4 separate regions of the Homo sapiens genome follow, and regions 1, 3 and 4 are each linked to region 2. The links are contacts of gene promoters, found by promoter capture Hi-C in blood cells and fetal thymus (Javierre and others, 2016). All regions are on one chromosome and are shown on one strand. Each heading gives the region's core, a stretch centred on a gene start or on the middle of the fragment in contact. The rest is flanking DNA. Distances are from core to core; before and after follow the strand shown.

The links. Contacts are between HindIII fragments. The CHiCAGO score rates a contact against its expected background, and 5 or more counts as called.
Region 1: a contact is called between a fragment that was not itself captured here and the fragment with the promoter of PEX5L-AS2 in region 2, in 2 of 17 cell types (endothelial precursors and M2 macrophages). The highest score is 9.5, in endothelial precursors.
Region 3: a contact is called between a fragment that was not itself captured here and the fragment with the promoter of PEX5L-AS2 in region 2, in 1 of 17 cell types (endothelial precursors). The highest score is 6.1, in endothelial precursors.
Region 4: a fragment that was not itself captured here is called in contact with the fragment with the promoter of PEX5L-AS2 in region 2 in 1 of 17 cell types (endothelial precursors); the score reaches 6.8 in endothelial precursors.

Annotation. Positions count from the first base shown.
Region 1 is chr3:180,582,473-180,585,172 of GRCh38, reverse strand. TTC14-DT (TTC14 divergent transcript) reads left to right here. Exons shown (of 3, transcript NR_183700.1): 2 at 516-825. Among named protein-coding and RNA genes, the nearest start is that of TTC14-DT, 18 kb to the left of the region's middle. The HindIII fragment of the contact is 2,281 bases long and covers 197-2,477 here.
Region 2 is chr3:179,896,857-179,899,556 of GRCh38, reverse strand. It overlaps PEX5L-AS2 (PEX5L antisense RNA 2), which reads right to left and starts at 1,363. Exons shown (of 3, transcript NR_110059.1): 1 at 1,206-1,363. PEX5L (peroxisomal biogenesis factor 5 like) reads left to right here. Exons shown (of 15, transcript NM_016559.3): 3 at 1,311-1,415. The HindIII fragment of the contact is 5,337 bases long and covers 61-2,700 here.
Region 3 is chr3:180,640,522-180,643,221 of GRCh38, reverse strand. It overlaps CCDC39 (coiled-coil domain 39 molecular ruler complex subunit), which reads left to right. Exons shown (of 20, transcript NM_181426.2): 13 at 1,021-1,229. Among named protein-coding and RNA genes, the nearest start is that of CCDC39, 38 kb to the left of the region's middle. The HindIII fragment of the contact is 1,080 bases long and covers 798-1,877 here.
Region 4 is chr3:180,662,116-180,664,815 of GRCh38, reverse strand. It overlaps CCDC39 (coiled-coil domain 39 molecular ruler complex subunit), which reads left to right. Exons shown (of 20, transcript NM_181426.2): 2 at 830-949. Among named protein-coding and RNA genes, the nearest start is that of CCDC39, 16 kb to the left of the region's middle. The HindIII fragment of the contact is 933 bases long and covers 861-1,793 here.

The sequences.
Region 1 (2,700 bases), core at 88-2,587, 690 kb before region 2:
TGAAAGGAAAGGTAAAAAAAGCATCATAGACAGCTAAAAAGAAATGATCTTCTGTATCATTTTAAAGATGTGATGATTAAATACTTGCATACTTCACTTTGTCTTATCTGCACATACACAGCTGCAATAAAAATCTCCATCTACCCTATCAGTGTGATCTGAGAGAACGGAATACTATGTCTACTTGGTTAAAGCTTTTCTTCTCTAAACATCAGGACGATTTAAGGAAAATACACATCTAAGCTCAGTTCTAATAGTTCCTTGCCACTCACTTGGAAAAATTCACTGTGGGTTGCAAGTTCATGTAGTAGTATACCTGGTTAAAATACAGCAGCTCTACCATTGTTACCTCATCATACTATAATTTCTTTGGGACGTGAACTTAAATTTATACAAGATTTTATTATAAAATGCTATCTAATTTAGGGATACTTAAATTTTTTTGGTTTTTTTGTTGTTGTTGGTTTTTGTTTTTGTTTTTTTTTTTTTTGACAGAGTCTTGCTCTGTTGCCCAGGCTTGAGTGCAGTGGCACGATCTTGGCTCACTGCAACCTCCACCTCCCGAGTTCAAGCGATTCTCCTGCCTCACCCTCCTGAGTAGCTGGGACTACAGGCCTGCGCCACCACACCTGGCTAACTTCTGAATATCAAGCTGAAATTACTATCAGATATCTTGCCACCACATAGAGGCTTTGAGTGAAGTCTGCATGGAGGAGAACAGAGCTGAGAGATGGAAAGATACTGAATCCCAGTGACGTCCTTTGAGATGTCGGATCAAGCTGAGCTGGGCATGAAGATAGAGCTACTCCTATACTTTTAAGATACGTAAGTTAATGAATTCCCTTGTTTGCTTGGATTAGCTTGATTATATTTTCTGTTACCTGCAGCAAGAGTCCTACTACCTTGAGTATTTCACACTTGCTCTCCAGATTCACTCTCTATTTTTTTTTCCAACCTTCTCTGTGCCTGGGGACTTACCTGTAAGGATTGTATCAAACAACACATTTGCCCTCTGGCTTCTGATTGTGTTCAGCCAGTGGCAATCTCCCTAGAGAGGGAGGTCAGAACATATATACTCTAGGGGCTCTCCCTGCTAGATCACAAAAGGTTGAATGGTTCTTCTTTTAAAGGCTATTGATCCTGTCAAGTTCCCTTTCCTCTCCAGGTTTGAGTAGCCATCTTCTCCCTGTACACATCAGATCCAGGGGTGTTATACCTTCTCACAATTGCAAGCTCTGGAATAAAACATTATCCCTAACAGGTTTCCCTTAGCCCTTCCCATATTTCTGTAAATAGCGCCTCTATTAAATTCTTCTCAATTATACAGTTTGAGTGAGCCGTCTCTTTCTGCCAGGAGCCAGAGTGATACATACTCCTTTCATTTTGGTATTCAAAATAAGTGGAAAATGCAGTAATTTTAAAAGACAAAATCAGATTAGCCATTTGAACAATTTGTTGCTTGATAGTGAATGCCCAATTTAGTATCATGATAAGATTTTAGAATTTTTGCAATACATGGAATTTTAGGAAGTCGGTGGTGAAGGGAACTGAAGGCTGTTGGCATCTACATGAGTGGGGACTTACTCTAAGATTTTGGATTATTTTCTAGTCTACCACTCACAGAAACTACCTTTTAGTGCAACCACGGTGGAACCCTGCCATAGTATCTCTAGGTAAGCATCACTATGCTCTTATAAATTTATATTTTCACTTCTCCAGGTCTTAAAAAGAGGACTGCTTGAATTTTTTGTGAATAAATGAATAAAGGAAATAATTTTAAGATGCACACTGAAATCTACACTCAGTGAATTTACATCTCATGATTTATAAGAACGAACTTTCCTTAGGTCTTTATATAGTTCAGAAGGACACAGCAACAAGTATGCTAATTTCAAATTTTTTCACTGAAGCAAGTTCTGAAGAAGTCAACTAGGTATCATGTAATTACTCTGTATATTTTAGGTGTTAAGATTAATTTAAGATGATTTATCACTCTAACTTTTTACCATGTTAGGCTTTTCTTCAATTAGTCTGAATTCATGAGCCCTGATGAGCTTTTTTAGTGATACAATATTTAAAAGATTAACTACATTGAACATATGTAATGGATTAATAGCAGTGTCTATTCAATATTAGCTTGAGGCTGTGGAGTATATTAAATCGTCAACATGAAGCAAAATGTTATTTCTGCTTTGAATGGAGAATACTAAATTAGTCAAGACACTTTCTCATCTCATCTGCCTTTCCCTGGCTCTTCACTTATAGTAGCAGTATTTTATATTGGACAACAGTTCAAACTAGTAATAAATATATGATTGCCATATTCTTCTGAACCACAATATCTACTAATGTTGCTAATCAAACAAAATATTTGGATTGCCCCAACCTAAGAAAAAAAAATTTAAGCCATAAAGTTGATAGGCGTATCCTGTCATATGTGTAGCATACTTCCTTTCAATCCATTTCAACAGCAAGCTTAAAAAATACGTGCCAGTCTTCAGGGAAATATAATAGATAAAATAGATAAGAATATTAATGTTATAATTAACATTACATAAGAGTTCTGTAATAGGAATTAGGGATTCAGTTTATGAAAGTCAAAAGGTGGTGATAAGTAGCATATTTTCACCTTCCAAATAAAGGAAAAGCTCAAACTTGACAAATACAAACATGGTAGGGTTTTTTTTTCTTCTCAGTCAT
Region 2 (2,700 bases), core at 114-2,613:
TTGAAAGCACAAGATAATGATGTAATTGTATCCTTTTTGTTGCATGGAAACGATCAAGCTTTATTAAGTTCTGAGTTAATATCAACCCTGGCTCTTAATTCCCTTTTCCAATATTAGACCCCCATATGTCGGTTTTCGTTTCTCTGCCTGTGATAGGTCTGTCTGCTACATTTGTATTTTAAGTAGATTTACAACACAAATATTCATATCTTTTCTTAGTATAAAATTATTTTCTTCAGGGAGGCTTTACCCAGAGACCTGAGAAAATTGAAGTTTTTGTTTTTAAAGTATTTAAGGATTATTTAATTTTTACATAGTATGAAATTTTTCTAATTGGGATGGAAAGGTAATATTTTGGGGGGCTTTCCCATTATACCATATCTAGTCTCAAAAAATGTAATAATCTGGTAAACTCAAATAACAGAAAGCCACCATATCCCTTTACAGTTTATAATTCTACTTCTTTGAGACAAATAACATAGGGATATGTATGTGTTTGTATACATATTATCTATATATATACATATACATTTGTATCTATAGATATATAGAGAGATATAGATTAGTGCCACAATATTAATTATCCTTTACGTCAGTTATGGATTATCCTTTACGTATTAATTATCCTTTATGTCTGTATTTATGGGGTTCTTCAGTTAAAAGACACTTCTAAAACTCTATTAAAATTATTTGGTCTCAAAAACATTGAAAGTTGCAAAATGTTTTTTTCATGAAGTTTATACCATCTCCACAAAACAGACTGGGTGAATTACTGTTATGTCAAGCCACTGGAGGATTTTTAGATATTTTGCAACATTTTTACTCTTTTTATCCCAATCCACTCAAAAATGGCAAAGACTCCAGAGATCACCCAGCAAAAGCCCTCTGTGGGAGTTGGATCCTGCTTCTAATCTCTATCCCAAACTCCTGTCATTCAAAATATTTAGGAATTATGTAGTAATAATTTATAAATGAACGTAGCAGGCAACCCATAGTGTTTTTAAATTGATATTACAAAAAATTCATGTCATGTTAATTTCCTTAAAACATATTATACATATAAAATACTATGTTAAAATTAAATGTAATATGTCAGCTGTAAAGGGGAAAAAGTAGCTAACTAAAAGTTCACAAATAATCTTTTTTCAGATTTTGTGTGTTTTCTCCTCAGCCAAAAGCCTCAAGATTCACTTGCAGCAGCCTACCTCTTCATTTATGTTGGATTGCTCTTTAAACATTAGAATATCTTGTAATAAATAATAAGTTAAAGATCTCTCCTGACACAGTCATTGTTGATTTCACTGTTATAGGGAAAAGGCTCTAGGGCGGCAGATAAGGCTGTTGCCATGGTGATGAAGGAGATACCGAGGGAGGAGTCTGCTGAAGAAAAGCCCCTCCTTACTATGACATCACAGGTGGGCAGACCCATAGGGTTTCTGTAGGAAGCTGACATATGTTAATATATCAGACATTGTGATTTTTAACTAGAAAAAAAAAACTTTAACTCTTGAACCAATTTTTTTAAAGACAGTTTCAATGAAACAATTATACAAATATAGATGAAAACCAAAATTGCTAAAAAAAGAAAAATTCACCATCTAGTTATTTATTTGTGAATATTAATTTCATTACTCAACTTTAGTTAAGACAAAAGAGAAAGAGAATATATGTGCAAGTAAAACATGTTGCTTCTTTATAAAGGAGTCTTGTTAAAAACTTTGGGAAAGAAATAACAATTAAGCTAACAGTACATTTGAACAAAAAAAAATCAAATTCCTATGAATAAAAACAAGTTATATTGTATACATATGTCAGTTTACCAGTAGAATATCTAAATTTTCTTAAATGTTAAATATATTTATGTTGTGACTATGCATACTACATATATGTCTATACATATTTATGTGGATAACTAATTTACAGGAATGAGCCAGAAGTCCCTGAGTCCCCATGCAGAAAATGGCATTTGTGACCCCTCTTATACATAGTGACCTTGAGAACAAAAATGTCATCTCTATTATAAGCACATGAGAGCCATTTTCAGCATTTATTATAACAAGTATAGAAAAAAGTCTTCATTTGTATGCAAAGACATGTGGAGACTGTGAATCCTATATGTCCTCGGGGACTTTTGAAACACCCTGTAAAATCTACATAAATATGTATAATGTACTCATCACCACTCTGTGGAACTACCAGTTTTAAAATCGCAAATGAGAAATATTTTTACTTGCATTTATCTTATAATTTAGATTAGATTATTTTAAACATTTCATTTTTTCCATTCAGTTCCGATTATATGATTCAGTTCCGATTATATGAACATGCCTAGAATTCGAAAAATGTCCATTTACAGTCCTCATGAAAGACATTTATATCAAAAGCTAAATTATGGCAACTTATTTTTAGAATATCAGCGGATCTCATCCCCAGCTGCTGCCAACATGTGTGGTTTTACTTTATTCTAAATACTATGTTGTAAGTTATAAAAATTATAACATATAACATCAAAATTAAATAATTTTTAAAGCTATTAAAGATTCCCAAGACTTTGGGATACATTTTATGTTTTCAGCTTTTTTTATCCCAAAAGAAGAGATGCTACTTCCTAATAACACATGGTAATCATTGGAAAGAAATTTGCTTGATATTTACCAAATTCCTCATTCTTTACTTAATATACATAGTAAAACATATACA
Region 3 (2,700 bases), core at 88-2,587, 740 kb before region 2:
TTTGGGAGGCCGAGGCGGGTGGATCATGAGGTCAGGAGATCGAGACCATCCTGGCTAACATGGTGAAACCCCATCTCTACTAAAAATACAAAAAATTAGCCGGGCGTGGTGGCGGGCGCCTATAGTCCCAGCTACTCCGGAGGCTGAGGCAGGAGAATGGCGTGAACCCAGGAGGTGGGGCTTGCAGTAAGCGGAGATCGCACCACTGCGCTCCAGCCTGGGCGACAGAGTAAGACTCCGTCTCAAAAAAAAAAAAAAATTATCTCTGTCATAAATATTGTAAATATTTTCCCCATTTACCTTTACATTTTTATTCAGTGTTTGTGACACAAAACTTTTTTTAAAACATCAAATCTCTTAGTTTTTTTTTCTTTTTAATTTTTATGCTTAGAAACTTCTTGGTTACACTAAAAATCAGACAAATGTTTACTATTTCTAGTAGTTACGTTGATTTCATCTCTTAAGATTTTTCATTCATCTAGAATATATTTTTGGTGCACGTGAGATGTAAGTATCTAATCTCTCCAAATGAAAAGCCACGTTTATGAAACAATAAAATCTTATATCCTGGAGTGTTTTTTTCTGGGGTTTCTATTCTGAAAATTGATTGATATGTGTACTCTTATGTCAGTACTCTATTCACGACTGAATTGTTTTAAAATAAAAATATATTTCCACATTATTTTGTGAGATTCAGAGTATAAAAATGGCCATTCATAGGGCTTTATGTTTTTTGGATAGCGTAAGTTTAACTTCAGGAATAACTTCTTCCCTTTGTTTTTTATAATAGCAAAGCTTGACTTTAAAATTGAATTATGAAAAAGATTTGGAATAACTATAAACCCTTTTCTTAAAAGAAAAAAAAAAACTATGATCAATTTTAGGCCTAGCTAATATCTTAGTCAATGGTTAAATTGGAAAAAGGTATATTTTCAAGTTTTACTTATATAGCAATAAAAAAAATTTTGGTTTTGCAATTAAAAATAATTTCAATATTTGACCATTTTGTTACGTTGATAGGATTTGATGATAGAGGACAATCTTTTAAAACTTGAAGTTAAGCGTACTCGAGAAATGCTTCACAGTAAGGCAGAAGAAGTTCTTTCCCTAGAAAAAAGAAAACAGCAATTATACACAGCAATGGAAGAGCGAACTGAAGAAATCAAGGTTCATAAAACAATGCTTGCGTCACAAATAAGATATGTTGATCAAGAACGGGAAAACATAAGGTAATTTTCAGTTTTAAAACTGCTGAGGAATTAAAAAAACAGGATGATGTCAGGAGAACTAGCTGCCCCCTCTAACATCCCGGATGTGCATCGTTTTTACTCATTCGAAATGGCTTTTCATATAAGAAAGACATAGGGCATGTTATAGCCATAAATCTAGGCTCTTCTTTTGGTTAATTCTTCATTCTTTAGATTGTCCCTTTTACATTAAGATCACTAATCTACTTGGAATTGCTTTTTATGTATGGTTTGTGGTAAAGTCCAATAACACGTCTTTTTAAAAATAGATATTCAATAGCTGCATCTATTGAAGTGATTTTGCACATCTTTTATAAGATTATTTCTGGCTACATGTTTTTTCTTTAATGTTACTGTCAATTTCATTTTTGGTTTGCTGCTGGTATGTAGAAATGCAGTTAATTTCTGTATATTAAGTATTCAGCAACCCTGCTTAACAATCTTGTTCTAACAATCAGTACATTCTAATTTTCTATATACTGTATTTCATTTATATTATTTTCAAATAATAACAGTTTTATTTCTTGCTTTCCAATCTTTATAACTTTTCTTTTTTCCCCAGTTCAATACTGAAGAGCAGTGTTGATTACAGGTATCCTTGTCTTATTATCTGATCTCAAAGGGAAAGCTTTCATTGTTTTTGCATTAAATATAAGGTTTACTGTAGTTTATTTCTATTTTTTAGATACCTTTTACCACATTGAGCTCCTATCTATTTTTATCCTTTACTAAGAAGTTATTTTGTTTAATCAAGAATGGATGTTGACTTTTATTATATGCTTTCTCAGCACTTATTGACAAGATGTATCTTCTTCAATCTGTTGTGTTTAATCATATTGATCAATTTTTCAAAGTCAAACCAACCTTACATTCTAGAATAAACCCAACTTGTCTGTTACATATTATCTTTTGCATACATCTAGATTTTGTTAGGGAATATTTTAATACAATTTTTGCATCTATGTTCATGTGTATAAATGACCCATAATTCTCCTTGCTCTACTGTCCTTGTCAGGGTATCAGGCTATTAAGGTTATGTCTGACTTCATAAAATGACTTGTGTGTATTTCTTATTTTTCTATACATTGAATATGTTTCTAAAAGAGTGGAATTATATCTTTTTTGTTTTTCAAAGACCCCACTGGAAAAAAAAGCCATTGGGAGCCTGAAGTTTTCTATGGGGGAACATTTTCAACTATTGGTTTATATACTGTTTATAGGACAATGCAGATTTTGTATTTATTATTGATTCTGTTTTGGTAAATTCTATTTTTCTCTAGGAAAAATTTTCTATATTTATCCAAATTTCAAATTTATTGCCATACAGTTGTTTATAATTTTATTAGTTAATAGTTGTAGTATTTTTAGAGATGATTCCTTTTATATTCCTGACATTGGTTATTTGTGCATTCTTTTGGGGTAGGATAATTCTCACCACAAGTTAATCAGTATT
Region 4 (2,700 bases), core at 78-2,577, 770 kb before region 2:
CTGAGACAGCAGAATCTCGTTGAACTCGGGAGGCAGAGGTTACAGTGAGCCGAGATCGCGCCACTGCACTCCAGCCTGGGTGACAAGAGCAAGACTCCATCTCAAAAAAAAAAAAAAGATCTCTTGTGGTTTAATAATGGAGTAGAATCTCATTTTTGCCCTATAAAAATATAGTATTGCTGTATGAAAAATGCATTTTTGAGTAGATCTGCTACCGCTGCAAATCTAAGAGAGATTTCCATTCCGTGTAATATGGTGCTAATTTTCCCACAGCAATCTCCAAATCACAACACTATTTTATAACATTTAAAGAATTAGTAGATTTTAGAAGTTCATGTGGACATTTAAAGAAACAAAATGCTATGTTTTTAATGTTTGTGTCCTCCCAAAATTCATATGGTGGTCTCAATCCTCAATGTGATGGTATTTCGAGGTGAAGCCTTTGAGAAGTAAACAGGTCATAGAGGTAGAGCCCTCATGAATGGTGTTGGTGCTCTTTTAAGAAAAGACAAGAGGGAGATGATCTCTTTCTCTGTCATGTGAAGATACAGCAAGAAGGCATCTGTCTGCAAATAAGAAAGAGGGCCCTCACCAGGAATCATATTAGTTGGCACCTTGATCCTGGACTTCCTAGCCTTCAGAACTGTGAGGAATTTCTCATGAATCAAATTAAATTTTGTTTAAGCTACCTAGTCTATGATATTTTTGTTATAGCAGTCCAAATTGACTAAGACAATGTAAATGAAAATTTAATTTTCTTTGATTTTAGGTCCTTCATATGGTAAAACTTAATAGGACTTTGGTTAATCATAGTATTTATTATTTACAGTTGTCAAAGCTGAAGGATGAAAGAGCAAGCTTGCAAGATGAGTTACGTGAGTATGAAGAGCGAATTAATTCTATGACTTCTCACTTCAAAAATGTTAAGCAAGAGCTCTCAATTACACAGGTACAGTAACTGAAATTTATGTTGATTATATCGTGTAGTCATGGAACATCTCATAGTATATTTACATCTGCGATTTTTACAGCTATAATAGGAAACCTTAGCATAATTAAACTATTGTGAACATAACCTTGAACATGAAAGTAGATAGAAAAAGGCTTAGAGGAACTAACTACTGGTCCAATTTTTTTTTTTTTTTTGAGATGAAGTCTCGCTCTGTTTCCTAGGCTGGAGTACAGTGGCGTGATCTCAGCTCACTGCAACCTCTGCCTCCTGGGTTCAAAAGATTCTCATGCCTCAGCCTCCCGAGTAGCTGGGATTATAGGCACCCACCACCCCCAGCTAATTTTTGTATTTTTGGTAAAGATGGGATTTCACCATGTTGGTCAGGCTGGTCTCGAACTCCTGACCTCAGGTGATCCTCCCGCCTCAGCCTCCCAAAGTGCTGCGACTGCTCCAATTTTAACCAAAAAATTAATCCATATGAAAGGAGAAATCATTATTCAAACAATCTGTATTAGACAGCAGGTTATTTGAGAAAGGTACAATGATGGTGGTGAGAAATGATGGCTATAAGCAGAAACAGAACTAATATAATACATAATAAAATTTCTGTCTCCTTTTTAATTTTTCAGCACAACTCACTGGGGCCATTTTGAGTGGAGGCCAGTAGTCTACACATCTTAGCATTGTTCAAGAATTGAAATTCATAATAATAATCCTGAGATTAAAAAGTTAGATTATACTTAAGAGACTTTATTTAAGATAACTGGGGAAGACATTAGGCATCTTAGAAATGTTAACATAAATATAATAAAAATTAAAACTTGTGGTTATTAAGTAAGCTTCATAATCTGTTCAAGTGTAGAAACTCACTCCCTAATGATGCCCAGCAAACCAGGCAGCTCAGCAAACAGCATTGGAGAGTTTTCTAACTTCTGTCTCAAACTAGTTTTTTTAAAGTGCATCTACTGTCTGAGAAATAGTATGTAGTTTCAAAAAAATGAACAGTGCCATATTTTAAAAAGCAATTTATAATCAATATAGATAAGTATTTCATGACTTACAAGTCTTATTAGAAAGTTACAAATTTAATAAACTTAAAAACAAACTCAGAATTCTTGAATCTCAATGTGATTGAGTAATTGATAAACTATTTGGAACAACACTTTTCCTTAAGTTGTTAAACTACTGAGCTGGGGATTGGAGAGGCAGAGACTCTGTAGTTGTATCTTATTATCATCAAACCTCAAATGAATAGAGTAATAGAGACAAAAGAATAATAAACCTCCAACAATGGTAGCTTTAGTACTGTAAAATTAATACTAAGTGATAACTTTGAAGCACTGTAAAATTAGTTAACACATACTCTTTTATTACATAAAACTGAACATAAAGATGTGATTATATGCTAATATATTCTAGAGAATATTCACAACCATTGGTGTTTAAATAATTATTTAAAAATAATGTCTGTTAATTAGAATATGTGATCAATTCATATAAAACATGTCATTTCTCAACTGTTTTTTAATGGATATTTCTTATTTGTAGATAATAAGTTTTAAGTCTAACTGAAACTTTGGTTTTCTTTAGTTTTCCTAGACCAGCGTAGTATCTGAAAACTATTGACAGTATTTTCTCCTAGCACAGTTCATTGACTTTCTTACAACTAGTGAGCAACACCAACTATATTGTAATCACAGTCTAATGTAATGTAGATTTTAGAGTAGTGGAATTAGTAGTACTTAATG